Linked DNA regions of Homo sapiens: region 1 is linked to region 2. The links are contacts of gene promoters, found by promoter capture Hi-C in blood cells and fetal thymus (Javierre and others, 2016). All regions are on one chromosome and are shown on one strand. The core of a region is centred on a gene start or on the middle of the fragment in contact, and the rest is flanking DNA. Distances in the headings are between cores, read along the strand shown.

Region 1 (4,180 bases), core at 426-2,925, 53 kb after region 2:
CCAGGAGAGAAGAGGGAAAAGCCCTTTTTCAGTAGAGGGGACATTGTGCAAAGTAGCAGTCAGGAAAAAGCCCCCTGCTCCAATGTCTGCAGAGTCTCCACTGAACAATGTTGCTTGAGTTCATCTCCACCCCTGCCCCACATCAGCTGAGTGTCACAGAAAGGGCTTGCATGTCCGGCTCAGGAGTTTGGACCTTATTCTGGGTCCAAGGGGCTGGAGAGTGTTGAGAGTTCTGAGCAGGGGCATGGACGGAATGGTGCTTACCGTGTAATAAGCTCCATCTGACGATGCTGCATCTGGAGAGACCAAGGAGGGATGATGAAGCTTGAGCGGGGGCCCAGGGCGTGGCAGTGGGGCTGAGCATAGGAGTTGTGTACACACACATACACACACACACACAGGGTGCTTTGGGGTGATGGAGATAAGTCAGGCTCAACTGTGCAGGAGCAGAGATCAGTCAACACTCGGCAGAAATGTTGAGGGTCATCCGAGAGGAACAGGTGAAAGGATCTGGGCCTTTTGGCAGAGGGATTGGGATTTTCCTGAGTGCTCACTGCGTGCCTTGGAGTGTGCTGGTGTTGCTGGGACGCCCCTCAGGCTGTCATGCCAGTAGGGCGAGGGGTATGAGGCAAGGGCTTGGGAGGAGCAGCAGCGCTGGCTGGGAAAGGCTAAGGGGTGGGCACGTAGTCACCTTCTATTTGGGCATTCCGAGGATCACAGAGGTAAAAGAACACCTACCTCCATGGTGGCTGGGCTAGACTCGAAGCCTGGACTCTGTTCTCCTCTAGGACACATGCCTCTGTTGGAGGATGGATTGAGGGAGGGAATTGGGAGATGGGTTAGGAGGCTACTGCACTAGTCCAGGCAAGAAGTCAAGGGGTCTGATCCTGGGTGGGGCTGGGAACACCGAAGTGGCAGGGAGGGCTAATGGAGGAAATGCCTTGGAGAATCAGCAGGATCAGCAGTGCGTGTCTCCTTGTCTCCTTTCCCTGACAGTATCTGTGTCTCCCATCAGTGCCAGGTGGCCCAAAAATAGACTCATGACAGCCCGGCCCTCATCTTTTTTTTTTTTTTTTTTTTGAGACGGAGTCTTGCTCTGTCCCCCAGGCTGGAGTGCAGTGGCATGATCTCGGCTCACTGCAAGCTCCGCCTCCTGGGTTCACGCCATTCTCCTGCCTCAGCCTCCTGAGTAGCTGGGACTACAGGTGCCCGCCACCACGCCCGGCTAATTTTTTGTATTTTTAGTAGAGATGGGGTTTCACCGTGTTAATGAGGACCTCATCTTTTTTATACCTTGTCTCAACCCTGTGAATGGTAGGCTTGGAATAGTCCCCATTTTCCAGATGAGAAGGCTAAGAAGCCAGGCAGGGGCTCACCCAAGGTCACCATGACTTTGAAGCAGAAAACCTGTATCTTCAGCTTTTAACACAGGCTCTCCTCGGGGAGGACATGGCTGCTGTTTGCTGCTGCGGTTGGTGCGGGGCAGCTGTCTCTTGAGTCAGAGCCAGCATGGACAGGCCATCTCCTCACCCGGGGCTTAGCAGGCTAATCCAGCCCTCCTGAGGGAGGCAGAGTGCAGGTTCTAATCCTGCTTTGCCAAGGCCATGTTCCTCTCTCTGAGCCTCACTTTCTTCATTCCTGCCAGTGGGATAGCTGGCCTTGTCCTCCCTTCCCTGGCCTGATGGGGCCAGGTGAGGTGCAAGCCTCTAAAACCCTTTTGTCTGAGTGCATGCAAGATATTGAGTGGGTTTGCTGGTGACCATGGTGACAGCTGTCCTCAGACTGCCTGCGTGGGAGTTGGGGCAGGTGGGCAGGGCTTGCTTGCTGTGGCCAGGCTACGGACTGAGCAGAGGCTGCCGGCTGGCCTTGGAGATCAGAGCTCTCATGGAGCAGCTCTATTTGAACTGTCAGCTGCCAGGCTTATGTGGTGTTAGGTAGAACAACATGAAATTGCCAACATTTGATCATTCGGTTTCATGCGGTTCAGTCTAATAGCATTTGTCCCCATTTTACAGAAAAGAGGCTCATGGGTATGATTTACTGAGGGTCACACAATGAGTCAGGGCTAGAATGTAGGACTCCTCATTCCTAGTCTGATACTCTTTCTACTCTTTCTAGTACTCTTTCTACTACCAGAGTCTTCCCTGTCTCCAGAACTCCATTTCTGCCTGCCCCCATGCCCTCTTGCTTCACACATGATGCCAGTGCCTCATGGATTAGGGTTTCTTCTTGGCTGCCTGAGTACCAGGATTTCTTGGCATCCTGGGTTGAAAGCATATGAAATCCACTAGCCATCCCAGGGGTCTGGGAGGATGGACTGTTTGTGTGGGGGAGGTTGGCCACAGCAACTGCCTTGTCACGGGCACTGCCTAGAAAGGGGACCAGGGCTGAAGGGAGAGTTAAAAAAATTTTTTTTCTTTTTTCTTTTTTGAAACAGGAACTCACTTAGTCACCCAGGCTGGAGTGCAGTGGCGTGATCTCAGCTCACTGCAACCTTCGCCTCCCAAGCTCAAGTGAGCCTCCTGTCTCAGCCCCAACTAGCTGGGACTGCAGGTGTGAGACACTACGCCTGGCTAATTGATGTAATTTTTTTTTTTTTTTTTTGTAGAGATGGGGTTTTGCCATGTTGCCCAGGCTGGTCTCAACCTCCTGAGCTCAAGCCATCTCCCCACCTCGGCCTCCCAGAGTGCTAAGATTACAGACATGAGCCACTGTGCCCAGCTGGGAGACCAGTTTTTAAAGACACTTTATAGGCCTTTTGAGATTATACCTTGCAGGGGCACCCTTACAAACATTTCTGCCTCCCCCATCTGACTGGAAGCTCCTTCAAGGCAAGGACTTTGCTTCTGAAGCAACAGGAGTTGACATTTTCTGAGAACTTCCTTGTGCCCAGCTCAGAGAGCCTAAGTAACCTTTATGGGAACCAGAATGTATCCCAGATGAGCCACATTCAAAGAGTCAAAAACAACAACAACAACAACAAAACCCAGAATCGAACACATCATTTCCCTCATTTCCTCATTCAGGAAGCTTCGGGTGGACCCTGAACTTTTTCTTTTCTTTTTTTGAGACAGGGTCTCACTCTATCACTTAGGCTGGAGTGCAGTGGCACGATCTTGCCTTACTTCACCCTTGACCTCCTGGGCTCGCCACCACCCTTGGCTGGTGTTGAACTCCTGGGCTCAAGTGATCTGCCTGCCTTGGCCTCCCAAAGTGTTGGGACTACAGGCGTGAGCCACCGCGCCCGGCCGCATCTGAGCTTGTAGCAGGTGCCCAGGTGCTTCTGAGGCATTCTGAGGCTTCTGAGCAGGCCAGGATTTGGGAACCACTGATGTCTGCCATGGTTACAACCTCTAACCAACAGTGAACTCTTAAGAGGCACACACTCTTGGCATGAGAGATGCTAGCCACAGACTAATAAACCCTGGTCCTTTCCTGGTGGAGCTCAGCCTGGTGAGAGAGACAGATATTTAAACAAATGGGCCCTTTGTATCGTAACACGTGCAGCAATGGAGGTTAGGTCACAGCTGAGAACTAGAACAGAGCAGGGAGCTCACTGGGTCTAGTACATAGTTGGGGTTCCAGAATATCTGTGATTCTGAATAAAACTTTCCAGCTTATTATCCCAGAAATTTAAGGCTTGTCCACACTCTAGCTCCAGTTCTCAGGCATAAGAGTAGTTTTTACTGAGCCCATAAGTTTAAACACCTGTTGTCTGCTGAGTCTTATATCAGGTCCTGCCTAGATTGGGCATCGAAGCAAAGAAATGGTTCTGCGCTCCAGGAGAGGCATTACGTGTTAGATGTTAAGAGAGCAAGCTGTGCCCATGTGAACCTGCATGAGAGGGCTCAAAGTGGGTTGGTGTGGGACAAAGTCTTCAGGAAACAGGCCAGGTGGAGGAGAAGGGCAGAAGGAAGGCTATTATGGCTCAGAGGAGTAAGGTAGAGATGACTCACACTGCACCCTGCATTTGCTCATCCAGCAAATGCCTGTCTGCTGGGCACTGTGCTAGGTGCTGGGGATACTGTGGTGAACAAAACCTGAAGCTGCCCTCAAGAACCATATACAGCATTGGAGGGGAGGCTGACCCCAATCAAGAAATCATGACAAGTGCTACCAAGGAGAAGGACAAGATGTTCTAATTTTTAATAAGGGAGATTGACCCAGGCAGGGAGCTCAG
Region 2 (4,261 bases), core at 1,064-3,563:
ATGGCTGGTTTGATCTATCCAGACCACTAAAACATTCTCCATATCATCAAGGTTGTTTCACTTTCTTATCACTTGTGTATTCACTGGAGTAGCACTTTTAGTTTCCTTCAAGAACTTTTCCTCTGCACTCACAACTTGGCTGTTTGGCACAATGGGCCTAGCTTTCAGCCCGTCTTGGCTTTCAGGATGCCTTCCTCATCAAGCTCAATCATTTCTAGCTTTTGATTTAAAGTCAGAGATATGTGACTCTTCCTCTCACTTGAACACTTAGATGCCACTGTAGGGCTATTAATTGGCCTAACTTTATTATTGTATCTCAGTCAACAGCAAGGCCTGAGGAGAGGGAGAGAGATGATGGAACAGCTGGTTGATAGAGCAGTCAGAACACACAGCATTTATTAAGTTCACCATAGTGTTGCCCCAAAGCAATCAGAATAGTAGTATCAAAGATCACTGATTACAGATCATAACAAATATAATAGCAATGAAAAAGTGTGAAATATTTCAAGATTTACCAAAATGTAACACAGACACAAAATGAGCACATGATGTTAGAAAAATGGCATTGATAGAGTTGCTCAATGGAGAGTTACCGCAGCCTTCAATTTGTAAAAAAAATGAAAATGCAGTATCTGTGAAGTGCAATAAAGCAAAGTACAAAAAATGAGGTATTCCTGTACATGTGCTGCCAAAGTGAGCGCTATATACATTCTTAACCTGGACCAAGAGCAGTATTCAAAATAACAACTCTGGCCAGGCACGGTGGCTCATGCCTGTAATCCCAACATTATGGGAGGCCGAGGCAGGTGGATCACTTGAGGTCAGGAGATTTGAGATCAGCCCTCCGCCATCATGGTGAAACCCCATCTCTACTAAAAATACAAAAATTAGCCTGGCGCGGTGGTGCAAGCCTGTAATCCCAGCTACTCCGGAGGCTGAGGCAGGAGAATCGTTTGAACCCGGGAGGCAGAGGTTGCAGTAAGCTGAGATCGTGCCACTGTACTCCAGCCTGGGTGACAGAGTGGGACGAGACTGTCTCAAAAAAAAAAAAAATAACAAACAAAAAAAACAACTCTGAGGATACATTTCTAGCCTGAGGCAACTAAAGCAAGAAATAATCTTATGCACAGACCTACAGTTAATCATTTTACTGAATCTACATATACATTCCACTTACATGATTACATATACGCATCAGTATGGACTTACATTCTATACATATGACTCTCCCATATTCAACAAGAGATCACCAAGAGCCTGAATCAAAGGATACCAATAAAACAAACCCTAAACTAGGAAGTGGGAGGGAAAGGAGAAAAGGGATGAGGGAGAAAAAGAAAAAAGAGGAAGGATGAAGGGAAGGCGGAAGCCAATATTAATAAATACTGAGTACCTACTGTATACACACCACCATTTCATGGTTGCTTCTTGGTTTCCACGCTTTCAGTCTTGGCCCTACATCCATTTTTTACACAGCAGTCTAACTGTGGTCTTCGAAACCCTGTGTTATCTGTCCCCAGTGCACCCCATGCTGTGCCACTCCTCTCCCTCAATGCTCTGCAGCCACAAGGGGCACTTTCTGTTCCTAGAATGCTCTGACTTCTTTCCTGCCACAGGGCCTTTGAACTTACTCTTTCCTATGCCTGAACTGCTTTCCACATCACTTATTCTTTTTCATTTTTTGAATTTCAACTCAAACATCACCTTCTAAAGGAATAGCGCACAGCCACTTAGTAACCCTCTATTTCCTTTATCACAATCTGAAAAGTTCCTGTTTGTCTAGCTCCACCCACCAACTTCGAGGGCAAGGACCAGCAATGTCTTGCTCACCACCGCATCTCCCGGGAGTTAGAACGGTACCTGGCACCTCAGGCATCTGATAATACTGGCTGAATGGCTGTTGGAGGCAGAGGTTCTTAACTGCCTATTAAGGATGAGGACCCTGAGGTTCAGAAACGTTAAAGTGATTTGTTCCAAATCAGACAGCGCCAGGTCTGAACCTAGCCAGCTGGGGCTAAGTCAAGTAACAACTGGCGAAACAGAAAGCTTAGCAAAGGCAGGATAGCGACAAACACGACCTAAAGTTTTCTCTTCATACCCAGGGATATCCACACCTTTCTCTCCCGCCCTGACCGACCGCGGGGCCTCCCCGCCCAGCCCCTGGCCGTGCGAGTCCCTTACTATGTGGGGATGAGAAGGCATTTGAGAAGAGTCACCCCGAGCGCCAAAGCCGAAAACCAATTGCCAGTACCCGTGGCAATTGTGAGCGCCGCCATTGCTGCGGCACCGCACGCTTCCCACCAACTTGATCCACATCCGGGATCCCGCGCATGCGGAGAAAGCCCTCTGAAGCCGTGCCCGCTAGCTGCGCGCATGCGGCGAGCGGCGCAGCCAGTCCGGGGACTGCAGTCAGCTATTTAAACCTCCCGCCCACCTTTTCTTTAGACCCGCGTCTCACCCCGGGCCGGAAGGGCTCCTGCGCAGGCGTTTGTAGCCACTTTTAAGTTTTATCAGCTAGTTCATGCTTGCGTTGAAAGAGTGGTCGTTTGCGCTGGGTCATCACTGTGTAGTATTGGGGATACTTAGGTGAGAAAAAAACTTAACGCTAGAGACGTTCACGCACTAGTGGAGAAGCCAGGATTGTTGCCCTAGAGTTACAGTAGATAAAAGTACCTCAGAGAACTGCGGGGGCTCCCAACCTGGACGCTTGCACCGGAGTATTAAATCCAGCTAGAGAATGGCATGTGCAAAGATACAGAGGTGAGAAACATTGTGTTTTTAGAACTCTGAGCGAGGCTCTTGGCTCACCTCCTGCTTGAGCGGAACCCATTCTGGAAGCAGGGTAGAGGCTAGTCCTAACGCTTAGTGTACAAATAGCCTACGGTTCATGTTAAAATAATTCGGATTCTGATTCAGTAGGCCCAACAAACTCGCAGATTGCGTAATGACTGAGGCACATGCAATTTAATTAGGCTTGTCTCATTATTTTACTGTATGATCTTGGACAAACTAAACTCTAAACCTCAGTTTCTTTTTTTAAAATTTTTATTTATTTATTTATTTTTGAAAATAGGAGATAAAAATGGTTTCTGGCCGGACGCGGTGGCTCACGCCTGTAATCCCAACACTGGGAGGCCGAGGTGGGCGAATCACCTGAGTTCAGGAGTTTGAGATCAGCCTGGCCAATATGGTGAAACCCTGTCTCTACTAAAAATTAAAAAAAAATTAGCCGTGCATGGTGGCGGGCGCTTGTAATTCCACCTACTCGGGAGGCTGAAGCTAGAGAATCGCGTGAACGTGGGAGGCGGAGGTTGCAGTGAGCTGAGATCGCGCCATTGCACTTCAGCCTGGGCAAGCCTCAGGCCTGTTTATCCAAGATGCTTTTGGTCTAAAAAAAAAAAAGTTTCAGCCTCATAAACTGGTTGTGAGGATTAAATGAGAATGCATGTAAATTGCTTGATATGATTCCAGGACAGAATAAATGCTCAATAATGTGTCAGATCAGTTAATTATCTTGCTGAAAGATGCACAGCAAGTAGGTGACAGTGTCACCTCCCTAATATGAGTTTATGCCCTCCCACAGCTTCAGCTGCCACCCATGTGAATATGATTCACAGATTTCTAGCTCAGCACTCTTCTCTCACTTTCAGACCCTGGTCTCCAGTTGGCTACCTGACCTCACGTAGATGTTTTTGTTTTGTTTTTGAGAGACAGGGTCTCATTCTGTGGCCCAGGCTGGAGGGCAATAGTGCAAACACAGCTCACTGCAGCCTCGATCTCCTGGGCTCAAGCAGTCCTCCCCACCTCAGCCTCCTGAGTAACTGGGACCACAGGGATGTGGCAACGTGTGTGTGTGTGTGTGTAGAGATGGGATCTCCCTATATTGTCCATGCTGGTTTCAAACTCCTGGGCTCAAGTGATCTTCCTGCCTCAGCCTCCCAAAGTATTGGGATTACAGTTGTGCGCCACCATGCCCAGCTACTTAGATGTTTTAAAGGCACTTTGCATTAATTTTCTATTTCTGCTGTAAGAAATTACCATAAACTTAGTAGCTTAAAACAACACAAATTTATTCTCTTACAGTTCTGTAAACCAGAAATCTAAAATCAGTCACTGGAGTAAAGTCAAGGTGTCATTTGGATTGGTTGCTTCCAGAGGCTCTGCAGGGAGATTGTTTTTCTTGTCTTTTTCAGCTTTTAGAAGTTGCCTGCATTCCTTGGCCCCTTCCTCACATCATTCCAACCAACTTCCATCCTTACAA

What was found. Contacts are between HindIII fragments. The CHiCAGO score rates a contact against its expected background, and 5 or more counts as called.
Region 1: a fragment that was not itself captured here is called in contact with the fragment with the promoter of ALG8 in region 2 in 4 of 17 cell types (total CD8 T cells, naive CD4 T cells, non-activated CD4 T cells and 1 more); the score reaches 6.9 in total CD8 T cells.

What each region holds. Positions count from the first base shown.
Region 1 is chr11:78,190,782-78,194,961 of GRCh38, forward strand. All of the region lies in intron 1 of USP35 (ubiquitin specific peptidase 35), which reads left to right. Among named protein-coding and RNA genes, the nearest start is that of USP35, 4.0 kb to the left of the region's middle. The HindIII fragment of the contact is 2,706 bases long and covers 323-3,028 here.
Region 2 is chr11:78,137,313-78,141,573 of GRCh38, forward strand. ALG8 (ALG8 alpha-1,3-glucosyltransferase) reads right to left here and starts at 2,314. Exons shown (of 13, transcript NM_024079.5): 1 at 2,182-2,314. The coding sequence starts at 2,276. KCTD21-AS1 (KCTD21 antisense RNA 1) reads left to right here and starts at 2,481. Exons shown (of 3, transcript NR_102281.1): 1 at 2,481-2,760. RefSeq lists enhancers at 1,897-2,006, 2,087-2,166, 2,777-2,886, 3,047-3,757. The HindIII fragment of the contact is 5,506 bases long and covers 2,045-4,261 here.